Linked DNA regions of Homo sapiens: regions 1, 2, 4, 5, 6 and 7 are each linked to region 3. Evidence: promoter capture Hi-C in 16 types of primary human blood cells and fetal thymus (Javierre and others, 2016). All regions are on one chromosome and are shown on one strand. The core of a region is centred on a gene start or on the middle of the fragment in contact, and the rest is flanking DNA. Distances in the headings are between cores, read along the strand shown.

The links. Contacts are between HindIII fragments. The CHiCAGO score rates a contact against its expected background, and 5 or more counts as called.
Region 1: a contact is called between a fragment that was not itself captured here and the fragment with the promoter of LINC00525 in region 3, in 4 of 17 cell types (M0 macrophages, naive B cells, total B cells and 1 more). The highest score is 8.4, in M0 macrophages.
Region 2: a fragment that was not itself captured here is called in contact with the fragment with the promoter of LINC00525 in region 3 in 2 of 17 cell types (total B cells and M0 macrophages); the score reaches 8.6 in total B cells.
Region 4: a contact is called between a fragment that was not itself captured here and the fragment with the promoter of LINC00525 in region 3, in 6 of 17 cell types (total B cells, naive B cells, M2 macrophages and 3 more). The highest score is 13.0, in total B cells.
Region 5: a contact is called between a fragment that was not itself captured here and the fragment with the promoter of LINC00525 in region 3, in 4 of 17 cell types (total B cells, naive B cells, erythroblasts and 1 more). The highest score is 6.8, in total B cells.
Region 6: a contact is called between a fragment that was not itself captured here and the fragment with the promoter of LINC00525 in region 3, in 5 of 17 cell types (total B cells, naive B cells, fetal thymus and 2 more). The highest score is 11.6, in total B cells.
Region 7: a contact is called between a fragment that was not itself captured here and the fragment with the promoter of LINC00525 in region 3, in 3 of 17 cell types (naive B cells, total B cells and erythroblasts). The highest score is 9.8, in naive B cells.

The regions. Positions count from the first base shown.
Region 1 is chr7:47,401,122-47,404,474 of GRCh38, reverse strand. All of the region lies in intron 13 of TNS3 (tensin 3), which reads left to right. Among named protein-coding and RNA genes, the nearest start is that of SNORD151, 62 kb to the left of the region's middle. RefSeq lists enhancers at 837-1,345, 3,092-3,353. The HindIII fragment of the contact is 2,038 bases long and covers 1,073-3,110 here.
Region 2 is chr7:47,383,318-47,386,951 of GRCh38, reverse strand. The region is part of intron 16 of TNS3 (tensin 3); the gene reads left to right. Among named protein-coding and RNA genes, the nearest start is that of SNORD151, 80 kb to the left of the region's middle. The HindIII fragment of the contact is 5,773 bases long and covers 1-3,634 here.
Region 3 is chr7:47,760,102-47,763,802 of GRCh38, reverse strand. It overlaps LINC00525 (long intergenic non-protein coding RNA 525), which reads right to left and starts at 2,327. Exons shown (of 3, transcript NR_038407.1): 1 at 2,290-2,327; 2 at 225-430. The HindIII fragment of the contact is 4,383 bases long and covers 1-3,330 here.
Region 4 is chr7:47,427,996-47,431,580 of GRCh38, reverse strand. TNS3 (tensin 3) reads left to right here. Exons shown (of 31, transcript NM_022748.12): 9 at 3,205-3,269. Among named protein-coding and RNA genes, the nearest start is that of SNORD151, 35 kb to the left of the region's middle. The HindIII fragment of the contact is 8,256 bases long and covers 1-3,585 here.
Region 5 is chr7:47,257,921-47,261,375 of GRCh38, reverse strand. No RefSeq gene overlaps it. Among named protein-coding and RNA genes, the nearest start is that of SNORD151, 210 kb to the left of the region's middle. The HindIII fragment of the contact is 275 bases long and covers 1,655-1,929 here.
Region 6 is chr7:47,286,582-47,290,397 of GRCh38, reverse strand. All of the region lies in intron 27 of TNS3 (tensin 3), which reads left to right. Among named protein-coding and RNA genes, the nearest start is that of SNORD151, 180 kb to the left of the region's middle. The HindIII fragment of the contact is 288 bases long and covers 2,303-2,590 here.
Region 7 is chr7:47,353,538-47,357,054 of GRCh38, reverse strand. The region is part of intron 17 of TNS3 (tensin 3); the gene reads left to right. LOC124901629 (a long non-coding RNA gene) reads left to right here. Exons shown (of 2, transcript XR_007060319.1): 1 at 1-3,246. Among named protein-coding and RNA genes, the nearest start is that of SNORD151, 110 kb to the left of the region's middle. The HindIII fragment of the contact is 8,931 bases long and covers 1-3,517 here.

The DNA.
Region 1 (3,353 bases), core at 842-3,341, 360 kb after region 3:
TGTTTTTGAGTACCAAGTGCCCTCTCTCTAGAAGCTTATGCCCTTTAAATAATATATTCATATAAATATAGCATATCATTATTGGATAATGAATTATATTAATATGTAGTGCTAATTTAATCTTTATAACAACATAGCCAGGTCAATATCATAATACTCATTTTGCAGTCAGAGAATTTAAAGTCTAAAGAGGCTGCAACTTTCTCAAGATCTGAGTGCTCCCAGCGATTTGTGATGTCAACATCACACCCACGTACTTTTGTGGTTGGCTCTATGATAGCATGGTGACAGGCTGTGCGCAGCCTTTGTTGTGGTGCTTGCTATTTCTTATTTCATTTTTCTATGCTACAAAATTGTGACTGCACATCTTTGAGTTGTTATTTTAAATGCAGATATTCTAAAATCTGAAGGCAAAGGATCAACATATTCTAGAAACACTCTGGGGAGACCCAGGTAAATAAAGTTAAAGCCGGAGGGATGAAGGGAAAATTATAGACTTGAATCAGTCTAATCTTTACGAAATGTTTGCATTACTATTATATCTTAAAGGGAGGCATTTGGGGGCCCTCGTACCAAGTACCATGTTGATTGTTCTTTCTGTTAAGTATTACAAGCATAATTCTGATCTCTTGCCATTGCTCCTAAAAAGATTTGTTGATGTAGATAATGCATAATTATTGCACACTATGGAGGGCTCCTGGTTGGTGAGTGGATTTTGTCTCAAGATCTGACCTGCTGTGTTGATGGTGGTTGCTGGGAGCCCCGAGTTAGGGAAAATCCTGTGGTTTTCCGTGTCTTTCAGAAGAAGCTGGAGTCAGTTCATGATTTGGTCAGGAGGACTGGGGAGGGTGGTGTTTACCTCCATTAATCAAGAGGAAAGAGGTTTAATATGAAACAGGGATTGTGTATGATGAGGCCGTTAGGATCTCAAGCCAGCAAACAAAGTTAGCATTAAAATACACAGAGAAACCCCTGAAGGGAGGGCCACGTGATTTCAGGCAGCAGTTGTTCTCTGCCAGTGGGATAGACCGCTCTTTCTTTCACTGTGGAGCCTTAGGAGTATTTGAAAGCTTGTGCTGTGAAAAATAGGAATCTTACAGGAGAATCATATGGGGCCTGGAGAGGAACCTGTTTGGGACAGGCCGATTCCCATCTCCTGCCACTCTGTACCTCCTGGGCACCGTGGCCTGCCTTCTCCTCCCTTCTGGTATGTGGAGGGAGCTGGGATTGCTGCGGGAGGAGCAGTGTGTTTGTGTGTAGCTGCTATGAGGAGCAGTGGGGGGACCTGGGGGAGCATCCTGGATTCCTGAAGAGGGAGGGCAGGACCTGGCCTGGAAGGAGGCCCTGCGCTGGGCGGGGCGGTACTGACGGGAGGGGCACGGTGAGCTGCGGTTGGGGATATTCCACTGTGCCCCTTATGTGGCCCGTACTGGAGCCCACAGCTCCCTCTGTTTTCACCCAGGACACTCCCTGCCTGCCAGGACTGAGCCCACAGCTGCCTCCTGAGGAGTTTCCTGACTCCTGTGGGCAAATGTTGGCGCCCATGGCAGCACAGGCTGCGTGAGCTATCAGCTGACATCGTGTTGTTGTTTTTATTTTTTTAAATCTCTGGTTCCCTTAAATATTTATAAAATTTGAGAGCAAGACTGGCTTGAATTGGGGCATCTCTTTTCCTTTTCCCTTCCCTAACCACTTTTCACTCCCCATTTGCAAGGCACTAGTGGAGGCAGACAGGCACATTTGAAGGCAGACAGGGAAAGGTGGGTGCTATCATCTCTATCAATGGGGGTGCATGTGTGGATTTACCCTTGGCCAGAAGGACCTCCCTCTGGGGATCTCTACAATATGCCCCAGGTTGAAGCATTTGATGGGTGGTCAGTGTAGTGAGTGTGGGGCATGGGGAGCTCAAAGGAGGGGCCCAGATACTCTCAGAACATCCTGGAAGGATCCCTGCAAGGGCAGCCTTTGATTGAGTCTTGCTGAGAAGTCAGTCTCGGACAGAGGTGGTAGATTTGTGGCCAACGTGCCATTGGCTGTTGGAAAGCAAATTGAGGCAACATTTCTTCACAATGCCAGTTTTCTACTTGCAAACGCCCTGGTTCCTGGGCCCCTGGAGGCCAGGCCTGAGTCTGAGCCCCATGTTTACAGCACCGCTGGCCAGCGCCAGGCCGTACAAGGGAGACCCAGTCATGTTTGTCAACAGGGAACATCCTTCCACAGTCTTAATTATATTTTTTTGGTTTATTTACCCGTCCCTTTCCTTGTAGATAGCACAAAGGTAAACATCTTCTGGGTCTGCCTGGAGTCACAGCTCCCTGCCTCCTGGGCTGGGTTTCTGGGCTTTTTGTTCCTCTGGTGGATGTTCATCTGGTTAGGGAAGACCCTCCCTGCAGAATTCTCCCGCATGCTGGTCCGGATCATACCTGCTGCGGTGGCTTCTCATTTACTGTTGTGAGGCATGTGATATTTTAAAGCCATCTTTCTCCAAGAAAAGTCTCTTTTATGGGAACGTGGCTGTCTCTGGTAGTCACTACCCCACAGCCTCGGGGTTGGGGAGGTACCTGCCTGTGCACGATTTGGTCTGAGAGCAGAATCCAGCCTGTCCAGGGCCTTCGGCCTTCTGGGGATTTGGGAAAGTGCCACTACCTGGTGGTCCTGCCCCTGATCTCTGAGTGAGGGGTATCCCTGTCCCTGCAGCTCCCCCAGCTGTGGCCTGAGAACCCTTCCAATGATGCCAGTGCTGCGCACGGTCACAAGAAGCAGGGGGGACCTAGTTATACAGGCAGGTCAGGACACTCAGGCTCCTGCTCTGCCCACCGTTCCCCACATGCCAAGCATCTGCAAGGAGGGGCTTGCTCTACCCTTTGGCTCATTGGCACAATCATTTAGGGTGCTTGAGCTGCACCCTGGGGACCTCATGAACCCCAGCTTGAGTTCAGATCACATCAGGGTGATTCTGAACACTTGTCTAAATGCCAACACCCTCTCTGTCTCCCTCTCTCCCTTCCTCCTTCTTTGTATCTCTGTCTCTAAATTACAGCATGCACATAATCATTTAGGATAGTACACACAGTAATGACCGGCTGCTGCTTTTTGGAAAACAAAAAGCTTTAAGTTGCAACATGGAGCATTGAGATCAAAGAAAAGCTATCACAATCAGTTGTTAAAGTCTAGAAAAAAGAGACCATGGAATTCTATTTTTCGGATGTGTTCCAAAACAGGGCACATTCACGTGGTCTGAAAGGGTTTAGGTGTGGCCTCTCTGAGGACTAGCGATAGTGGTGTTCAGAGCTGCGGTTCCACAGGAGCAGCACAGGGAACACATTGAAGCCTCCAGTGGAGCCCCGCACCCA
Region 2 (3,634 bases), core at 307-2,806, 380 kb after region 3:
AGGCATAGGTGTCAGAGACTAGTGGGTGTGTTCCTTACTTAAATTTTTTAACATAGCACAGATTGCAGGGATATTTTATGTAAAACATCCAGCTATTTCTTGAAAAACAGGGTTGATATAATGGCAGCTTGTGCTGTTATGTAAGAAAAGCGAGCTTTAATGGATCTTCAGACTTGCTCAGTTTATCTTGCCGATAGGAGCAATTCTGACCTACTTTGGGGATGAAAGCTGGTTTTCACAGCACTCCTTTCCCCCTGTGGACACTGTGCTGGATGGGGACGCATGCCAGGCTGAGCAAAGCTGAGACCGCCTCGGCTCGTTGCCTCAGCACAGCCATATACCTAGAGCCTGCCTGGCTGTCTGTCGGGGAGACCTGGCATGGAGGTCCATGGATCGGGGTAAGAGACAGGGTGACCACTTTGCTATGTGAGCCAGGAGTGTTATTAGAGCATGTCACAGAGAGGGAGCCAAGGTCAAGGCCTGTCGAGGGTGGACACCCAGTGACAGTTGCTCTGGAGCTGGGAGCCCAGATTTAAATCCCTAGGGCCCGAGAGACTGATGCGAAGTGCAGGGAAAGCCATTGACCCCAGGAGCTGGGAAAACAGGTTTCTGTGGACAGGAGGAGGGCGTCCCCAGCAAATGTCCTGTGTGCGCTCCGCCTGCACCTGCCTGTTGTGGATGTGGGGGGACCCCCTCCAGTTGATAGGGCCTAGGTGGAGGGTACAACTGCTCCCAGGAAGTTTTCTTCCACATAGCAAGAGCCAGAGATGTGTTTAGTGTTTCTTTATAAGTGCATAGTGATGATTTCTTAACAAGGAAAATACACCCTTTGACATAGTAGTCTTTCAGACTTCACTATGGAAAGTTGAATTAATTTAGGATTCATGGTGTTGACAGTCTATGGGAAATTATACTATGAAAATTCAATAGTATTTATTTTTGTCAGTGTGAATGTGAGCTAATTTATGACCTGGGATATATTCTCACTGAAATTAGGCCAAACGGTTAGAGCAATAGCAAGATTTGGTGTTGATTGATTGTGGGAATTCTGCCAAGATCTCAACAGCCGTCCTTTGGTGGCAGCAGTAGCCATACATTGCCCCTGAACTCGTAGCAGTGAGTCTGGGATGCTGCTGGGCCCCTGACTAGGATGAGGCAGAAGGAAAAGCGGCGGGGGAGCCACCGAGTGATGGGCACTATGGGTGCTTTCCTGAGGGTGGGAAGAGGCTGCGAGGAAACCATCTTTCTCGTAGTATTGGGAGTTCATTCTTTATTCCTGTACATGTAATATATTGCTCTCTTGTTAATCATAAATCGGAGGATTCCAATAGGTCACCTGGGGAGTGAAGGCAGAGTGTCACCTTCTGGGAAGCTCATGAAAGAAAACCAGAGGCCACGTGTGCTTGTCAGGCAGGCTCTGTAGGATCCAGGATGCAGTCTCCATCTCCTCCCTGCCTCTCTGAGCATCGGCAGTGCTGGATGCTGCAGATACAGAGCTGAATTGGATGGCACAGCTCCGTGCAGAGGCCAGGACAGGGCTGGAATGGCTAATGGTTGTTGTTGTCAGAGCTCACCCTTGCTGAGTGCTGCTCACGAGCTGCACAACCTTCCGAGCATGCAGCTTGCATTAACATATCTAATCTTTACCACACTGAGGGGTCAGAGGGCTAGTTGGTGAAGCCAAGAGTGGGGGCTTGGTCGCCGGCTGTGAATCTCCTTCTGCTGATGTGCTGAGCTCAGTTCAGGCAGGGACTGGATTGACAGAGGCAGGAGACTGAGAGCACCATGAGTGTGTCCAAAGCAGGGTGCCTGGTGCAGGAGCCAGGATGCAGAGAAGGGTAGAGAGCAGACTGGGAGTGAGTTCACTGGCTGTGGCGTCACTTGACCTGTACAAGGCAGGCGAGGTTGTCTGTTGGGAGTGGACAACAGTCTGGGGAGTGGAGGTGTTGAGAGCTGGGACAGCTTGGAGGAGCTTCCCCTGGCAACAGGTGGTTGTTGGGTGAGCAGTGTGGTGTGCCCAGTGATGTGTGGACGCCACACTGTTACGGCCTCTGTGATTTCAGAGGCATGCACATCAGCAGGGGCATGGACGTGGGCCACAGGCGAGGGAGACAGCAGGCCTTGTGGGTCTAGATGGGCTAGGAGAGGAAGCACCATGGATCTGTGTTGCCCTCGATGTCTTAAATTTGGTGCTGGAGTTAAACATACATTGGCTGTGACTCCACTGTGCTGAGGGAAGGGCTGGATACATGCAGAGAAGAGCAGGAGCCAGGGAGCTGTAGCGGCTGCTAGAGAAAGGAGAGTCCTGGCCACCACTCCTGAAGAGCTCAAGGCTTTCAAAGTTTGGTGGAAGTTGAGGGTATGTCATGAGAAATTCTAAAGTCAAACCAAAGAAAGTTATCTAAAGTCCAAAGAGTCAAGGCCAGGGCCTCAATAAAATGTTGATGGTTTCCCAGGAGAAGCCACAGAAATGCCGGTGATGAGAGTGTTTGAACCTGGACCAAGGGAGGCATGGACGTTTGGGGGATGGGCTGGGAAGTGAGGGGCAATGGCAGCCCGCAGGGCTGGAGAACGCTGTAGCCAGGGGTACCAGTTTCCAGAGAGAAATGAGTTTTGGGTGAAAGTGTTCTGAAGTGGAGTGCAGGAGGCACAGGCTGCCCCTTCCCGGCCTCTAGGCACACAGCTGCCCCTCCAGAGACCCCCTGGGACGGGCCTGTCTGCCCATGTGGGTGGGGAGGGGCCTGACATTGGAGCAGGGATCACACAGGCTCAGTGTGGTGGACAGGTAGGGATGTCAGCTCAGGAGGATGAGTCCTTGGAAAGAAAGTTGGGAGAGGAGCAAACGGTGGAGACAGTGGGGGGAGAATGGGTGGTCACGGGCTGGAGGGACCTGCATTTGTTGAAAGTTGGTGGTGTCATGTTTTCAAATCAGAACTTTCTACCAGAAGCTATCTGAATTTAGATGTCACTTTCATGTGTCTCTCCTTATGAGGAGGAACTTCACAGGAGGCCCTGCGTGTCACTTTCTGACCTGCAGTCCAGGTAATGGCCTCCTCAGAAGCCACACCCTGATCTGTCTAGGTGGACAGCTTTCTTTTGGCCTGGAACCCTGCACTAGAGGGTGCAGCATGTGATCACAGTGTCGGTTTCATTCCGGTGACCAGTGCACAGAAGAGAGTGTCTTCTCTCTCCTTGAATGTTGTGTGCCCCAGGCTCCCTTGCAGAAATCCCCTGTCTACCTGGGGTCAGAGCCTGCCTCTGTCCCCAGACGCTTTGTATAAAACCTGAGTGCATGTGCGAGCCTCGGGCTGGTTGCCGTTGCTTTCTAAATATGCCCTTGTTACCATGTGGTTTCTAGCCTGAGAATGTTCTTACTTTTTATTTGTTGAGATCAGATTCATAGCACATAAATTTACCATTCTAATCATTTTAAAGTATACGATGCATTGATTTTTAGTACGTTCACAAGGTTGTGGAACTGTCGCCATTATCTAATTCCAGAACATCTTCATCACCCCAAAAGAAGCCCTGTACTCATTAGTGGTCACTCCCAGTTCCTCCTTTCCTCAGCCCCTGGCAACCACGAAGCTACTTTCCTTCTCTCTGTTTCCCATTCCGGACATCTCACTCACTG
Region 3 (3,701 bases), core at 1,078-3,577:
TGAGCTGGTAATCTGATCTTTGCCCTTCTGCTAGTAAACAGTTGAAAGATAACTCAATACATTCTCCGTCTGCCTTTTAAAACCAGAATAGCAAATAAAGGCCCTAGAGGGGCCTGGTTTGGATGGGGGAAGCCATTTATCACCTTCAGGGAAAAGAGAATGTAAATAGGTCCACATTTATTCTCCGGTCCTCCCGTGGCCACGACAGCCTTAGAAATACTCACCTTGTTTCAGTTAGCAGGCCAAGGGTCAGCGGTCAACAGAGCTGCTCCAGCAAGCTCTGTGTGGTGCCTCAAACAGGCCACACAAAGAGATGCTGTTTAAAATCGGAATTCCTTTCACCCTGAGTAAGTTTCCAAAGCAAAGGGGTCACCCGGTGAGTGTTGGTGCAGTCCTCACTGTTTGTCCTGCCTCTTGCTACAGAGGACATCTGGCAAAAGCAGATCAGAAAATGAAAGAAGTCTGTCCCAGTTCTGCCCTCCCCAGGTGGTAGAATTTCTCATGCGATTGTTGCTTGGGGTGTGTCACTCTGTACTTGAGTAGGTGGAGGGTGAACAGACTGATCAGCTGGCTATGAGATGAGAGCAGGATGATGATCATTCACTGGGATGTGTCTGGCCAACTGGGAAGAGTCAGGTAGCTCAAGGCCTGGAGATTCTCATCAGGGAGAGCACAATGGGGCCAGGCCTATAGCTGAGGTCCAGGCACAGAGGCTGGGCTATGAGAACCAGTGTCCTCAGTGACTGCGACAATGACATGTCCTCTGTCACCACCTGCTACCGTGAGGCCCCAGCCCCGGCTGACCTGTAGACTCAGATCTGGGCCTGAGAGGGAGGCTTGACTTCAGCCCCTCTCATGAACAGAATCCACAGCACCAGGGCTGAGAGTGGTGGCAGGGCCCAGGAACAGTGATATCCAGTAGAATAAGTGTGACCCACCCCAGCCCCCCACAAACCAGAGGGAGTGCTGAGCACCTCCGCCCAGCCTCAGGCAGCTGACTTCACTAAAGGAGGCCAAAAGGAAAGAAAAATGTGACAAGTGTGTTTTGATGGCTGATGCGCAGGCTCCCAGAGAACCTTCAGAAATCAGGTGGGAGTTGGAAAGATTTTTGAATTGTCCTCCTGCAATAGCATGTTGAAGAAAAACTAGCTAAATATACTTTATGTGTAATTCCATGTCCATATGCATGATTTCTTAGGTGGCAACCAAAGGCAAGGAGTTCCTGTGCAAATGGTATTGCCAATATTAAGGTTCTCAATACAGTATATATTTTGTTGTATTCATTTGCTAGGGCTGCCAGAACAAAGTTCCACAAATTGGTTGCCTTAAACAACAAAAATGCATTGTCTCACAATTTCTGGAGGACAGAAGTCTAAGATCAAGGTGTTGGCAGTGTTGTTCCTTCTAAAGGCTGAAGGAGAATCTGTTGCAGGCCTCTCTCCTTGGCTTGAGGACAACCATCTTCTCTCTGTGTCTCTTCCCATCATCTTCCCTCCAGGCATGTCTGGGTCCAAATTTCCCCTTTTTATTATTTTTTATGTATTTATTAATTTTTTTTTTGAGATGGAGTTTCACTCTTGTTGCCCAGCCTGGAGTGCAATGGCGCAATCTCGGCTCACTGCAACCTCTGCCTCCCGGGTTCAAGCGATTCTGCTGCCTTAGCCTCCCAAGTAGCTGGGATTACAGGTGCCTGCCACCATGCCCAGCTATTTTTTTTTCTTGTATTTTTAGTAGAGATAGGGTTTCTCCATGTTGGCCAGACTGGTCTTGAACTCCTGACCTCAGGTGATCCACCCACCTCGGCCTCCCAAAGTGCTGGGATTACAGGCATGAGCCACCATGCCCAGCCAAATCTCCTCTTCTTTATAAGGACACCGGTCATATTGGATGAGTCATATTGGATTACATGCCCACTCTACTCTAGTATAACCTCATTTTAATTTGATCACATTTTCAAAAACCCTGTTTCCAAATGCAGTTGCATTCTGAGGTACTAGGGGTTAGGACTTGGACATAGACATTTTGGGGGACACAATTCAACCCTTATTTGCCAAATCACTTTTTAGAATGATTAAGGCAATTAATGATCTTCTTAAAGTGAAGAAACAACCCACAGAATGGGAGAAAATATTTGCAAACTACCCATCTGACAAGGAATTAATAACCAGAATATATAAGGAGCTCAAACAACTCAACAGGAAAACATCTAGTAATCCAATCAGAAATCAAAATCTAGTAATCCAAATAAAAAATCAGAAATGAATAGATATTTCTCAAAAGAAGACTTACAAATGGCAAACAGGCATATGAAAAGGTGGTCATCGTCACTGATCATCAGAGAAATGCAAATCAAAACTACAATGAGATATCTCACCCCAGTTAAAATGGCTTTTATCCAAAAGACAGGCAATAACAAATGCTGGTGAGGATGTGGAGAAAAGGGAACACTAGTATATTGTTAGTGGGAATGTAAATTAGTACAACCACTATGGAGAACAGTTGGGAGGTTCCTCAAAAAACTAAAAATAGAACTAGCATATGATCCAGCAATCCCAGTGCTGGGTCTATACCCAAAAGGAAGGAAATCAGTATATTGAAGAGATATCTGCACTCCCATGTTTGTTGCAGCACTGTTCACAATAGCTAAGACTTAGAAGCAAATTTACAGTCCATCAACAGATGAACAGATAAAGAAAATGTGGTACATATACACAATGGAGTACTATTCAGCCATAAAAAGAATGAGATCCTGTCATTTGCAACAACATGGATGGAACGAAACTGGAGGACATTATGTTAAGTGAAATAAGCCAGGCACAGAAAGACAAACATCACATGTTCTCACTTATTTGTGGGATCTAAAAATCGAAACCATTGAAATCATGGACATAGAGAATAGGAAGGATGATTACCAGAGGCTGAAAAGGATAGTAGAGGACTGGGGAGATAAGGTGGGAATGGTTCATGGGTACCAAAAAAAAAAATAGAAGAATGAATAATACCTACTATTTGATAGCACGACAGGGAGACTATAGTCAATAATAATTTAAGTGTACATTTTAAAATAATTAAAAGTATAATTGGATTGTTTATACCACAAAGAATAAATGCTTGAGGGTATGGATACCCCATTCTTCATGATGTGCCTATTTCACATTGCATGCCTGTATTAAAACATCCCACGTACCCCATAAATATATACCCCTACTGTGTACCCACAAAAATTAAAAATAAAAAATTTTTTAATCTTGTCAACAGTGTATTAGGACATTGTGTTGTTGCAATTTCCTTAGCATCAAGTTCCGTCTTTAAAAAAAAAAAAAAAAAGCTTACTGATAGGTTTTTAGAGCCTGGTAATTCATTCTTTTTTGTTTTTTGTTTTTGCTCCGTTGCCCAGCCTGGAGTGCAGTGGCACAATCTGGGCTCACTGCAACCTCCGCCCCCTGGGTTCAAGCAATTCTTCTGCCTCAGCCTCCCAAGTAGCTGGGATTTTAGGTGCCAGCCACCACACCCGGCTAATTTTTGTATTTTTAGTAGAGATGAGGTTTTGCCATGTTGGCCAGGCTGGTCTCAAACTCCTGACCTCAGGGGATCCACCCGCTTCAGCCTCCCAAAGTGCTGGGATTACAGGCATGAGCCACTGTGCCCGGTCGGTAATTCATTCTTAAGTAAACTGGCCATATATGAATTGGCCATTTGAG
Region 4 (3,585 bases), core at 222-2,721, 330 kb after region 3:
TCACTCTGTCACCAGGCTGGAGTGCAGTGGCGTGATCTCGGCTCACTGCAACCTCCAACTCCCAGGTTCAAGTGATTCTCCTGCCTCAGCCTCCCTAGTAGCTGGGATTACAGGCACGTGCCACCACACCCAGCTAATTTTTGTATTTTTAATAGAGATGGGGTTTCACCATGTTGGCCAGGAAGGTCTTGATCTCCTGACCTCGTGATCCACCCACCTCGGCCTCCCAAAGCGCTGGGATTACAGGCATGAGCCACCGCGCCCTGCCTGACATTAGGTTTTTTTATTTGAGAGTTTTTTGTCTTTTAACATAGGCATTTATTGCCATAAACCTTCCTCTTACAACTGCTTTTGCTGCATCCCATAAGTTTTGGTGTGTTGTGTTTCAATTTTTGTTTCTCCCAAGATATTTCTAAATCTCTCTTCTGACTTTTTTTCTTTGACCCAGTAGTTATTTAGGAGTATGTTGTTTTATTTCCATAAACTTGTGAATTTTCCAAGATTCTTCCTGTTATTGATTTCTAGTTTCATACCACTATGGTCAGAAATGATACTTGAGGCCAGGCGCGGTGGCTCATGCCTGTGATCCCAGCACTTTGGGAGGCCAAGGCGGGCAGATCACCTGAGGTCAGGAGTTCGAGACCAGCCTGGCCAACATGGCAAAACTCCGTCTCTACTAAAAATACAAAAAAATTAGCTGGGTGTGGTGGCATGCACCTGTATTCCCAGCTACTCGGGAGGCTGAGGCACGAGAATCGCTTGAACCCAGGCGGTGGAGGTTGTAGTGAGCTGAGATCATGCCACTGCACTCTAACCTGGATGACAGAGGGAGACTCCATTAAAAAAAAAAAAAGAAAAAATACTGAATATGATTTCAGTCTCCTTAAATTCGTTAAGGTTTGTTTTGTGGCCTAACATGCCATCTATGCTGGAGAACTTTCTGTGTGCACTTCAGAAGAATGCGTATTCTGATGCAATGTTCTGTATATGTCTGTAAGGTCTATTTGGTCTAAAGTGCAGGTTGAGTACCCTGTTTTCTTACTGGTTTTCTGTCTAGGTGATCTGTCCATTGTTGAAAATGGGGTACTGAAGTCCCGTACGGTTGTGGTATTTCTATCTGTCCCTTCAGATCTTTTAATATTTGCTTTATAGGCCGGGTGCAGTGGCTCATGCCTGTAATCCCAGCACTTTGGGAGGCCGAGGCGGGGGGATCACCTGACATCGGGAGTTCGAGATCAGCCTGACTAACATGGAGCAAGCCCGTCTCTATTAAAAATACAAAAAATTAGCCGGGCATGGTGATGCATGCCTGTAATTCCAGCTACTTGGGAGGCTGAGGCAGGATAATCGCTTGAACTCGGGAGGTGGAGGTTGCCGTGAGCCAAGATCGTTCCATTGCACTCCAGCCTGGGCAACAAGAGCGAAACTCTGTCTCAAAAAAAAAAAAAAGAAAAGAAAAGAAAAGAAAAGAAATACTTGCTTTATACATCCATAAATAGTGCCACAAAAGTGATTGATAATGGGGTGAATGTCACCACCATGTGTGCCTGTTTTGGCTGAGGTGTTGTTTCTTTGTAGGTGAATTGCTGTCAAATATAGTTTTATGCAAGAGGTATACTAGTAGCCATACCATTAATAATTGCACGTGCCAGGATTCAGCTGCAAAGAGTGTATCAAGTGCCCGCATTGAGTATCTATAAGGCATGCTCTTGACTTTCACTGACAGAGAGAAGGATGCTCCTGGGTGACTTTCATGTATGACTGGGCTTATCAGAATTGTGACTTGAATTTGATCAGTAGTTTCTTCTCAAGAAGTTAGGGAGCTACATATTAGAGGCCCTGCCTTTTTGGCTTTATATGATTCCAGATCAGGGGTTGGCAAATATTTTTAAAAACAGCCAGATTAGGCCGGGTGCGGTGGCTCACGCCTGTAGTCCCATAGTCCCAGCACTTTGGGAGGCCGAGGCTGGTGGATCACAAGGTCAGGAGATCGAGACCATCCTGGCTAACATGGTGAAACCCCATCTCTACTAAAAATACAAAAAATTAGCTGGGTATGGTGGCGGGCGCCTGTAGTCCCAGCTACTTGGGAGGCTGAGGCAGGAGAATGGCGTGAACCCGGGAGGCGGAGCTTACAGTGAGCCGAGATTGTGCCACTGCACTCCAGCCTGGGGGACAGAGCGTGAGACTCCGTCTCCAAAAAAAAAAGAGCCAGATTGTATTTTACACTTTTCAGTCCCCGTGGTCTTGCTGCAAATACTCAAACCTACCCCTGCAGTGAGAGTGAAAGCAGCCCTGGATGTAGGTAAACAGATGGGAGTGGCCATGTTCTAGTCAAACTTTGTGTTTGGACACTGAAATCTGAACTTCAACACATTTTCACATGGCATGGAATCTTATCTTTTCAAAATTTTTTCTTAATAGTTAGAAAATGTAAAACTAACTCTTAGCTCACAAGTTGTGGGAAAGTAGGTAATGGGCAGAAGTAGCTCCTGGGCTGTGGTTTGCAATCTGCTGTTGTAGGTTGTAAGAGTATGTTCTAGAAGGTGGCACTCTGTGGCCCTGGGTGAAGGTGGCCTGTCCAATAGTTTCTGCTTCTCCTGCTGGTGTTGCTGGTCTGTGGGCTGGGCTGTTGGTGTCTGTGGTTATGGTTTGAGTGAGTCCTTTTCCAGAACTTCTGCCTGGGACAGTGGTTCCTTTATGTGTAATGAGGGTGGGCTGCGGCGGTGTATGTGGAGCTCAGGTGCCGGCAGTGCTGCCAGTAAGCTGGAATCTATGTCCCATCATGCTGAGCTGTGTTTGCAGCCCTGATCATTGTCAGCCCGTGAGCAGGCAGGCGTTCACTTCTGTCTGACCTGGATAATTAAGTCATGCTAATTGCTGCAGCTCCTGGCACAGTTTTTTCCAGCCTAATTGGGTAAAATGACAGGCAGCTGCTGTGTTGGTCAGCCCTCCTGGGCTTCTACAGCTGCTCCAGTTAGCACCCACTCTTACTGTTTGCACCCAGCGTGCGGGTTCCCTGTTGCAGAGACTCCAGTTGCACTGGGTACTGACTTTCCCAGACAGGAAGGCTGTGGGTAATGCTGGCCTTACCACCAAAGCAGGCTCTCTATTGTTTTGTCCACTAGTGAGTCTTTTCCTGTTCTAATTACATCTCTGCTGTGGGATTTCAGAGAAAATCAGCTGATCTTTTGTCTCCTGCAGGGCGGGAAAGGACGCATAGGAGTGGTCATATCATCCTACATGCATTTCACCAACGTCTCAGCCAGGTAGGATGAAGATGTCAGCTCGCTGTCTTGAGGTGCTAAAAGCTGGGCCTGCATGGGGCTGAAGGCTGTCTGCGCGGGAGCTGTTCTGGATACCAAGGGCTCGGCTGACCTGTGTTTCCCATTCCCCAGTGCTGGGTTGGTCAGTGCCTAGAAACCCAGTTTCCAGTTAAGCGTTTACACTTGTGAAAGTGGCATTTTCCAGGTTGGGTGACTGTGTGATTGATTCTAAGTACTTCCATGGAGGCATTAAAAAAATAAGTGACCCCACTGTCCCTTGTTCTTTAATAGAGAATTCTCTAACAAAAAATAACAGAGA
Region 5 (3,455 bases), core at 543-3,042, 500 kb after region 3:
TTGATTTGCATTTCTCTAATGATTAGTGATGTTGAGCATTTTTTTCATATGCTTGTTGGCCACATGTATATCTTTTTTGAAATGTGTTTGTTCATGTCCTTTTCCCACTTTTTAATGGGGTTGTTTGTTTTTTGCTTGTTAACTTGTTTAAGGTCTTTATAGATTCTGGATATTAGACCCTTGTCAGATGCATAGTTAGCAAATATTTTCTCCCATTCTGTGGATTGTCTGTTTGCTCTGTTGATAGTTTCTTTTACTATGCAGGAGCTCTGTTGTTTAATTAGGTCCCATTTGTCAATTTTTGTTTTTGTTACAATTGTTTGGCCCTCCTGGCCAGGGTCTATATGTCCAGAATGGAATTTCCTAGATTATCTTCCAGAGTTTTTACAGTTTTAGGTTTTACATTTAAGTCTTTAATCCATCTTTAGTTGATTTTTGCTTATGGCATAAGGAAAGTGTTTAAATGTCAGTTTTAAAAGAAATAACCTCTCCGATTGACAGAGTTCTTCGTGACAGTGTGTTTTAGAGCTGTGCACTGATGATCCTCCTTCTCTGTTTGTGGGTGAGAGTCAGGCTGGTCAGTCCACGCTGTGTGATCATGCTCCTGGGACTCCATTTTTGAAAAGGGTTGCTGTGAACATGGAATGAAATTATGTGTAAGAAGAACTAGTACAAAGCCAAGGACATAGTGAACTTTCCATAGATTGTGCTATATCTTCATCATCACCATCATCATCATCTTCACCATTATCACAATCAACATCACCATCATCATTATCCCCATTACCATCATCATCATCACCATTATCACCATCTCCACCATCATCATTATCACCATTACCATATCCTCATCACTGTCATCATCACCATTACCATCATCATCATCATGGTCATCACATCATCACCATCATCATCATCATCATCACCATTACTGAAAAAATCATCACTTTATCATCTCTTCATTACCATCATCATCATCGCTGTCATCATCATTACCACCACCATCATCATCATCACCATCATCACCATCATTATCACCACCATCCTCAACATCACCATCACTATCACCATTATCACTACCATATTTATCAACATTTTTTTGTTATCAGGCATCAGATATGATCATCTTTGACAACCTAAAGCCAGGGAAGGAGTATGAGTTGGGGGAAGCCACTCTGGTGGGTGTTAGTTTATGTAAAAACTATATTTACATGTTTGTGTCTGTGTATGTGCCATTGCCATGTGTTATTCTCTCTCCCTCTCTCTCATTTTTTTTTTTTTTTGGCTTCTGAAGAGCTATTGAAAAGTATTATAAGCTCAGCACAGTGGTGCATGCCTGTTCTCTCAGCTATTCAGGAGTCCAGCCTGGGTAACAGAGTGAAACTCCATCTCTAAGAAAGAGAGAGACAGAGAAAGAAAGAGAGAGGGAGGGAGAAAGAGAGAGGGAGAGAGAGAGAAAAAGAGGGAGAGAGAGAGAAAAAGAGATAGAGAAGGTGAGAGGGAGAGAGGGGGCGAAAGAGAAAGAGAGAAAGAAGAAAGAAAGAGAGAGAAAGAAAAGAAAAGAAAAAGGAAGAAGGAAGGGAGGAAGGAAGGGGAGAGAAAAGTATGATAGGAACTCAAAATAGGAAACATCTACCTGGGTACTAGACAAGCTTCCCAAGGGCGTAAGAAGCAAACACCTCCTTGCTTCTCTCCTCTTTGCAGTCTTATACAGAAGTTTCAATTTCTCTCCTTTCTTTGGTGATTCACAGTGATGTTCATCCACGGTTTTCTCTAAGTAACCCCCTTTTGCATCCTGGCTACCAGAAGTAGCATCTTAGGCAGGGACTCCAGTCTGGCCAGTGTCATTCCTGGCTGCCCAGTGCTGTAGGAATGTCTCAGAGGAGCTTCCTTACAAGGGTATTTATAGGAGTGACTTTTCTCTAAGCTTTATAATGCTAACTTCTAGGGTATAACTATTTTACACCAAAACCATTGATTTTCTCTATTGAGTATCCTCTATGTAGCTTCAATAGTGAGAGACATGCCTGGAAAGTCAGGGCCCTGAGGTGGGGGTTTCCTAAATCTTGGAGCAACTCTCCTAAGCCCATACAGCCTGAGATTCACTGTGGGCGAGGCTGGTCATGAGGAAGAGCTTCAGGGGCAACAGGAACCTGGGGTCTTCTTAGGGCAGCCAAAGTCTGTCTCCAACCCCTCTCCCAAGATTTGGAGTGCACGGGGGGCATGTTGGGAGAGCTTGGCCGCTCTATGATGGCCCAGTTGAAAGCAAAGAAGAAGACTCCTGGAATGAAATACTGACAGCTGCCTGAGGTGTGGGTGAAGCTGAAGGATGTCTACTTGCCACCCTGGGTAAGATGGCAAAGTTACTAGTCCTTCTGGCATATGGCCAAACATGACTGGGTGTGTCTCATACATACTTAGTGTCTTCAATGGGTTTATTTCCCTCTAGTTACCCAAAGCAAAGCAGGGAAAGGCATGTGGCAAGTTCACACAGTTACAAGTAAAAGTGAGGGTTGAATTAAAAAGGAAAAGATTTGAACAGATACTTTCTGGAAGAAGATACACAGATGGTAAGGCAGCACATGAATGTAACAGCATGAGACACTAGGGATATGCCGGTTAAAAGCACAGTGAGCTCTCATTCCACCTCCCTTAGTTCAAAAACAAGGCAAAGCTAAACAAAACCAAAAATGGACATTATCAAGTTCTGGCAGAGGCAGAGAAACTGGAACTCTTACGCTTGCTGGTGGAGATACAGAATGGGTCAACTGCTTAGAAAACAGTTTGAAGGGGCCGGGTGCGGTGGCTCACGCCTGTAATCCCAGCACTTTGGGAGGCTGAGGCAGTTGGATCACGAGGTCAGGAGTTTGAGACCAGCCTGGCCAACATGGTGAAACCCCATCTCTACTAAAAATACAAAATTAGCTGGGCCTGGTGGCACCTGCCTGTAGTCCCAGCTACTTGGGAGGCTGAGGCAGGAGAATCGCTTGAACTCGGGAGGCGGAGGTTGCAATGAGCTAAGATTGCACCACTGCACTCCAGCCTGGGCGACAGAGCAAGACTCCGTCTCAAAAAAACAAAACAAAAAAAAGAAAACAGTTTGAAAATTTCCCTGTAAAGTAAAACTTACATTTACCATGTATGTTGCAGCAATCTCCCTCTTAGGTGTTTACCCAGTGGAAATGAAAGCTTATGGGTCACACAAAAACTTATTACATGAATACTTAGAGCAACTTTTATTTATAATTGCCAAGAATGAAAACCTAATGTCCTTCAGCTGATGGATGTACCAACCAACTGGGGTACATCCATCCAATGGAATATTATTCAGCAAAGAAACCCCAAATTATTGATACTCTCAACAGAATGCAAGAATCTTAAAATAATTATGCTGAATGAAAGAAGTCCAACTCAAAAGACTACAAACTATACAATTCCATTTATATGACCTTCTG
Region 6 (3,816 bases), core at 1,197-3,696, 470 kb after region 3:
CTACAGAGCAGAAGTTTTTAATTTTAATAAAATCCAGCTTATTGATTTCCTGTTTTATGGATTGTGACTTTGGTATTGTATCTTAAAAGTCACCACCAAACCCAAGGCCAGCTAGATTTTATAGTTTCAAATTTTACCTTTAAGTCTGTGATCCGTTTTAAGTTAATTTTTGTGAAGGAAGTAAGGTCTGTGTCTTGATTCATTTTTTATTTTTTTGCCTGCAGATGTACAGTTGCTTCTGTACCACCAGTTGAAAAATCTGTCTTTTCACAGTTGTATTCCCTTTGCTCTTTTGTCTAAGATCAGTTAACTATATTCATGTGGGTCTACTTTCGAGTTCTTTAATTGACCTATTTGTTCTTTCACCAATATCACATTTTCTTGATTGCTTTAGCTTTATAGTAATCCTGGAAGTCAAATAATGTCAGTCCTCCAACTTTGCTCTTCTCTTTCAATATTGTGTTTGCTATTTTTGATCTTTTGCCTTTCTGTATTAACTGTAGAATCACTTTGTTAATATCCACAAAATAAGTTGCTGGGATTTTTATTGAGATTGCATTGAATCTATAGATGAAATTAGGAAGAACTGACACCTTGGCAAAAGTTGAGTCCTGCTGTCCATGAATATGGAATATCTCTCCATTTATTTAGTTTTTTGTATCTTTCATCAAAGTTTAATAGTGTTCCTCATATAGATCTTGTCTATAGTTTGTTAGATTTATATGTAAGTAGTTTTTGGGAGGTGCTACTGTAAATGGTATTGTGTATTTAATTTCAAATTTTACTTGTTTATTGCTGGTCTGTAGGAAAGCAGTTGACCATTTGTACATTAACCTTGTATCCAGCATCTTTCTGTAATCGCTTACTAGTTCCAGGCCAGGTTACTTTTGCAGCATTAGATGCAGTCGTAGTGGCCCCAGTTTAAGAAGGTTGTAAACAAACCACACACCATAGGGCTCTTGTGGTTCTGTGGCCATGAGGGAGGGACACAGCTAGAGAGGACAGTGGGGACTGCTGACTTTCAAACCCTGACTTTCAAAACTGTTTTAAGTTTTTCATGCAAGGTAGGTGTTTATTGTCAGAAATGTTGGGGAGGGAATTTCTGAGTCTGGTAGAAAATTGGACTAGAAATACCTCCATTCTGTACCTCATATCTGCAGAGTAGTTTACAGGTGTAACTCCACAATGAAGGTGTATGAAATGTATAGGCATTTTCTTATTTCCTCTACAATTTGTATTATTCTTCTATGTAGCTTTTCCCTGTAAAATTATACATCACTGTGTCTGTTACCAAGCTAAAGTAAAATTACTCTGTTTTGAATGGAATTTTGTAGTGTTTAAGTTATTTTAGACTCTCCTTATAGGATAAGTTATCTGTGGCCAAAACAAAGGTGAAAATAGCTTGCCCCAAATTGCAAGTGTGCTAAAACTCGAAGCTCCAAAATGAAAAATGTAGCTGTGGTCATGGGTTTCCGGCCATGTTCTGCTACTCAGGATTTTGATCTCTGGCAAATCACTTAGCCATGCGGACCTGAGGTTTGTATCTGGTCAGTGGGGATAATAATATTTCCACACATAGCAGTTGAAAAGATTAAATGAATAGGACATTGACAATGCCTTGGGAGCATTTTTCTGGCCCAAGAGGAATGGCCTTTCCTGGGAAGCCGGCCTCACCCTTTCCCTTGTGAGGGACCTGGGCTGGTCCTGGGCCACAGCCCCTAAATCTGTTTTAGGGGGTCCCTGGAGCCCATCATGGTTCTTAGCTTTCTTCTGTTAAAGTAACAGTGGACCCTGTCTGTGGGTCCCAGTGAAGTGCCCAGAAGGATGCAGGAATTTACTGTAGACCTATCTGATGAGCAGCTCACTCACTCTCAACTGAGGAGACAGGGCTACAAAACCAGCTCCACTCTGATGGATTTATTTGTTTCAGTTGCACCTTTTAAAAATGTATTTGAAATTTTGAAAACCTTTAATTAGTGGTTTTAAAATCACAACTTATGCATCGGCAGTGTTCAAGAAAGCGCAGAAGAACGGTGATAGCAACAGGCACAGAGCACTTGTCCTGCCCAGCTTATTGTCTCCTCCCCTTCACCCACAGGGCGTGTGGGTGTAGTGTCCTGTCATCCCATGTCATAGACAGAGGACCCAAGTTGGCAGCTCTGGCTCCTGAATGGTAGATCTAGGCCTGGCATTCAGCTCCCACGTCCAGCTGTGCCCATATTGTCTCAGGGACACAGCCCTGCCCATTCAGCCCTATATGGTAGCACCAGGGCACACGCAATTTCACTTTTCTCCTTAAGCTTCTTAGTTATCCTGCATTCACCCAGTAAGTGTGGAATTAATAAATGAATTGAATGAATTTAGTTGATCATAACAGTGCATCCTAATAGCACTTGTTTTTAGATATTAAAACTTTCTCTTCTATCTTGACTTATCATTTTTAAGTGCACTTCCATCTTTTAAAATTACGTATGAAATGTATCAATAACTCCAAATGTTTTTTAAGGGTGGGTCTTCTTAGAGTCAAGACTTCATTCAGAACTTGGAGTTTGTATCTGATCATCTGAGTTGGGCATTTATATATGAAGCTTAAATTATGACTGCCTTGAGCTTCTTTCCTTTAAAAATCTCATTTCTGAAACACATTGAGAGCTGCGAATGTCTGCTGTCCATTACATTAACCGCGATTCCAAGCCACGGAACCAGGACAGCAGATCTGTCACCAGAGGAGTGAGGCTGTCACAGTGACCACCCCTCAGCTAGTGTCGTCTTCACCTGGAGGATTGGCTGCAGGTGTTTAGAATCAGTGCAGAACAACCATTGTAGCAAGACGGTGGAATTATTGCAATCTCTGATGACCTCCAGCAATTTAGTGAGTTTTCTTTCCTAAACTGAACTTCATCTGTTGTCCTAATTCACTTAGAGTCCTAGACTCCTGGATGTGCAATGTTCTTTGAGATGATCATGTCCAATTTCCCCGTTATAAAGATTCAGGAAGCTGAAACTCAGAAATATTAGCAGACAACTCACAAAGATGGGAATAAACTTGTAATGCTCTCCAGTTTAATCCCTTTTTTTAAATATTAAGGCCATTATGCCTTTGTTCCAATCTCTAAAACAATTTCTATTTGTGTTTTAAGCCTCGGTTCTTAATTGTTTCTTGTTGAAGCAGAGGAATATAATATAATCCTGAAAAGAAAGACTTACTTCTTTTCAGTAGCCTTCTAATAGATTTCCCAGAAATGTTGCAGTTGCATTTTTTAGCATATGGTAGGTATACTTTTTTTTTTTTATAGAGTCTTATATGTTCTTTAAGTTTTAAAAATGGAAAATAAAAGAAAAGGAAAAATGAACTACTCATAGATCGGTTGCCCCTATGCAGCCCCTGAATATTGGGAGGAAGAGTGGACAGCAGGTAAAGTGTTCTCCAGCCCAAAGACCACTCCTGATGTCAAGCAGATCCAATCCTATGCTGCCTTTTTCCTTGTACTTGGGGTCATGCTGCCTGTACGATTCTTTTCTCTTCTCTTAGCATAATAAGTTTACCCATGGTTTTTACAAACATAATGCAGGTCTCATTTTTTTCATGGCTACACAATAGTCCATCATATAATTCACCTCCTTATGGATGTTCATTTACCATGTTTCTAATTTTTAATACCACAGACAATGCTTAGAGGACCATCTTTCTGCATTATTTATTTTTTCTGAAATCTGGATTGTTGCCTTAGGACAAATTCCCACATGTGGGCCTCAGACTTTTGTTCTGTGTTATCAAGTCCCTTTCCCAGAGTAGCCTAGCAATTGACAGAACTC
Region 7 (3,517 bases), core at 216-2,715, 410 kb after region 3:
TGTAGTTGGTGTGATCACAGCTCACTGCATCCTTGACCTCCTGGGCTCAATTGATCCTCTCACCTCAGCCTCCAGAGTAGTTAGGACGACAGGCATGTGCCACCATGCCTGGATCATTTTTTTTTTTTTTTGTATTTTTCTGTAGAGACTGGGTTTCATCATGTTGCCCAGGCTGGTCTGGAACTCCTGGGCTCAAAAGATCCACCCTCCTCAGTCTCTCAAAGTGGTGGGATTACAGGCGTGAGCCACTGTGCCCGGCCCCTGTTTTTTCTATGTTTTAATTAACTTATTTATCATCGTATTTATTTAAGGTGTTTAACATGATATTTTGTTTGTTATATCTATACATAGGGAGAGGATCACTACAGTCAAACCAATGGACATATCCACCACTTTACCTAGTTACTTTTGTGTAAGAGCACCTAAGGTCTACTGTCTTAGTCAATATTGCATCCTGAAGATTTGCTCAGGGAGCGGATTCCGTCTCTTTTAGAACAGAGGTTGGACACTTTGTCTTGCATGTTGGAGTCACCTGGGGAGCTTTAAAAATGCAGACGCTAAAAATGTGGGTACCTGCTTCTACCTCCAGAGGGTGGCAGATTGAGTTGGCCCTGGTGGGGCCTGGATGTCAGACTTGCTTTAAAAATGCTCCCCAAATAATGCAGTGCTAATTCAGGGTTGAGACCTGCTGTGATTCTTGAGCTTGGTTGTGTGTTGGAAACACTAGGGAGTTTTTAAAAATACTGACACCTAGGTCTCACCGCTGGAGGTTCTGACTTCACAGGTGAGGCCCGAGCTTTAGGATTTTAGTGATAAAAGGTGGACAATGGCCTTTGAGAACCACTGTTGTATATTTGCAGTTCTCAACTTAGGTGCGTGTCCCAGCCTCCAGGAGAGCTGGCCCTTGGCTCATTGAGGCTGGAACGTGCCGCAGGGTGGTTCTAAGATTTGTGACCCTGCTGTGGAATTTAGAGGACAGCCAACAGTCACGTATTGGTTATCAGAGGCAGAGGCAGGCGACCCCATGGGCTGCCTTCCACCTGGGTGCTGGCTTTATTTCACCAGGGCAGAGTGGGCTATGTGACCCCACAGTGGAGAGAATGCAGTGACATGAAGTGTGTGAGTGGGCAGCATGGTGGGTGTCCGCTCCTGAACACTTGACCCATCTTCCTTCCCCTCCCTCATCCCACTTCCCAGCAGAGCCTCAGGGCCTGGGATCTGCCAGGCCGTGCGCTGGCAAAGATCAGTCTCCAAGAGCAGTCTGAATCACAGAATCACAGCTCAGGGTCAACATAAGTACTGACTTACCTATCAGGATGTGTTATTTTACACTCTCAATTAGTTTACATAATTGGGAGTTCAGTGTATTTGGACAAGGTGGAAAGTTGCCGAAGAGCTTTGTGGGTGTTTTAAACAAAATTTAAAAAACATTTTCTGGCTAAGCGATCTGAGAAGCCCTCTCCTGCACTTCAGACTGCTCAGGGGTGAATTGATGGCAACAGTGCTGACCCCCAGGCTGGGCTGAGTTCAGTCCCACATGTGTTTAGTACAGCACCCAGTGTCTTGGCCTGAATCCCTGATTCTCCAGGGCTCTGACGGCGATGCATCCCCTTCTCACGAGGCCCCTGGGTGCCCCCAGTCAAGGACTGGCTTTCCTGCTCTTTCCTCAGAGCACGTGAGGATTCCCTGTCAGGACCGTCCCCCACCCTGTTGTGGTGGCTTTGGATAAGGTACGTCATAGGATGCACCTGGGGCTGAGGCCCCACCATCCCCAGCTCCTCCTGTGGGGCCGGAATGACTGAGCGTCCTCCTGCCTCGCAGGCTCGGTGTCCTTTTGCACCCTGTGGTGAATCCCAGATCCCGCTGGGCGTGGCGGAGTCTCAGGTGACCCTGCGCAACTTGCTGGCTGGGCAGCCCTCAGCACGTTTCCTTATCTGTCCTTGACGCCGGCTCCACCCGTGAATAACAGTGAGACTGCTAAATGAGGAAACATGCTGGTCTTTGGGAGTGGCAGTGTAGGGGACTTTGGGGCATGTGTCCCATTTTATACTCAAGGTCACGTGGTTCCCGAGGCTCTGGGTGGGTAGCACCCAGTGTCTGGAGGGAAGGAGGCTTGGGCGAAGACAGCTAAATGCCTGGTGTGGGGACTGCCCAAAGAGATGGGCAGCGTCCAGTCATGTGACCTTTGGAGACCATGTTACCATGTCATGTTTTGGTGGACAATGAGCGTGTCACCGCGACAAGAGGGGCACAAGACTGTGTAAAGAAAAAGCCACTGCCTGTCCCTCCCTCCACAGAGACCCCAGCTGCATGGAGTGGGTGAAGCTGCACATCACCTGCAGATCACCGGGGTCTGTGTTCACTGGGGGTTTCAAGGGGCCTGAGATTTCTGCACTGAGTACTCATGACCTTTGTAAGGAGAGGATGCAGGATTTTTTTTTTTTTTTCCTGGCTGGGAACTGGCAGGGAAGTAAGGGCAGCTCTTCCCCAGCACCTGGGCCTCAGGCTGGGAGCAGGGTGGGCACAGGTGTGAGAGATCAGGGTGTGTGTGCCATGGGTGCAGCCAGATGCAGGTGCCCCCCTGCCCCACCCCAGGGCTTTGGGAGCTGCCCTTTGCCCGTGAACATCCCTGTGTGGGAGCTTGGGTTTTGTTCCCTTTCTCCTTGGTTTTTCTGAGAAGGGGTACGTTGGGGAGCTGGGGGTGGGAGGGCGGATCGCCCAGAGCCCTGCAGGTGCTCTCCAGTGCTGGCAAATTCCCTCTTGTCCCCTTATCAGCTCCTTCCAGAGGTGACAGCCATCTGTGTGGTGGCAGCTCTCTCCTGCTCCCATGAGGTCTCCTTTTTCTTCTCTTTTCCTGGATTTGACTTCTTAACTGAACAGAAAAATATATAGGCATGGACAGTTTTGTAGTAGTGTTTGGAGAATAGGCCTTAACAATATAATTATTCAATTCATGATTTCATTGTTCAAACTGCCCAATCTCATTGCATTACGGCCAGTTCTTTGTCGTACCTTGGAATTTGTGTGTGTGTGTGTGTGTGTGTGTGTGTGTGTGTGTGTGTTTTGTCCTCTGTGTTTGTTTGTTTGTTTCCTTTTGATGCATATAATGTAATATTCTTGGTGAAGGCCATACCTCCCCTTTCTGCAGGTGTGAGTGGGAGGGCTGCAGGTTGCGGAGTGAGACCTGAGGCTACACTGCTGGCCCCTGCAGTTTTACCAGAAGCTCAAGGATAGGATGGTTGTAGGGTGAGGCCCCTTGTGGTCCCAAGCAAGACCAGGGCAGCTGAGGAGGGTGGAGGAGGAGGGGTGCTGGGCTGTGGTAGGAGGGAGGCTAGGGGACAGGAAGAGACTGCTTCAGGTGCTGGTCATTTCACATTGATGTGAAGTGTGTAAGAAGTAATTGATGGACTCAAACAATTAAATGATTCCCTCGGGGAGTGCTCAGGAATTAAGCCTCAGTGAGGAAAAAGAAATGTAAAAGTCATGTGTGTCTTCATTGAGATATGTGGCTCTTCAC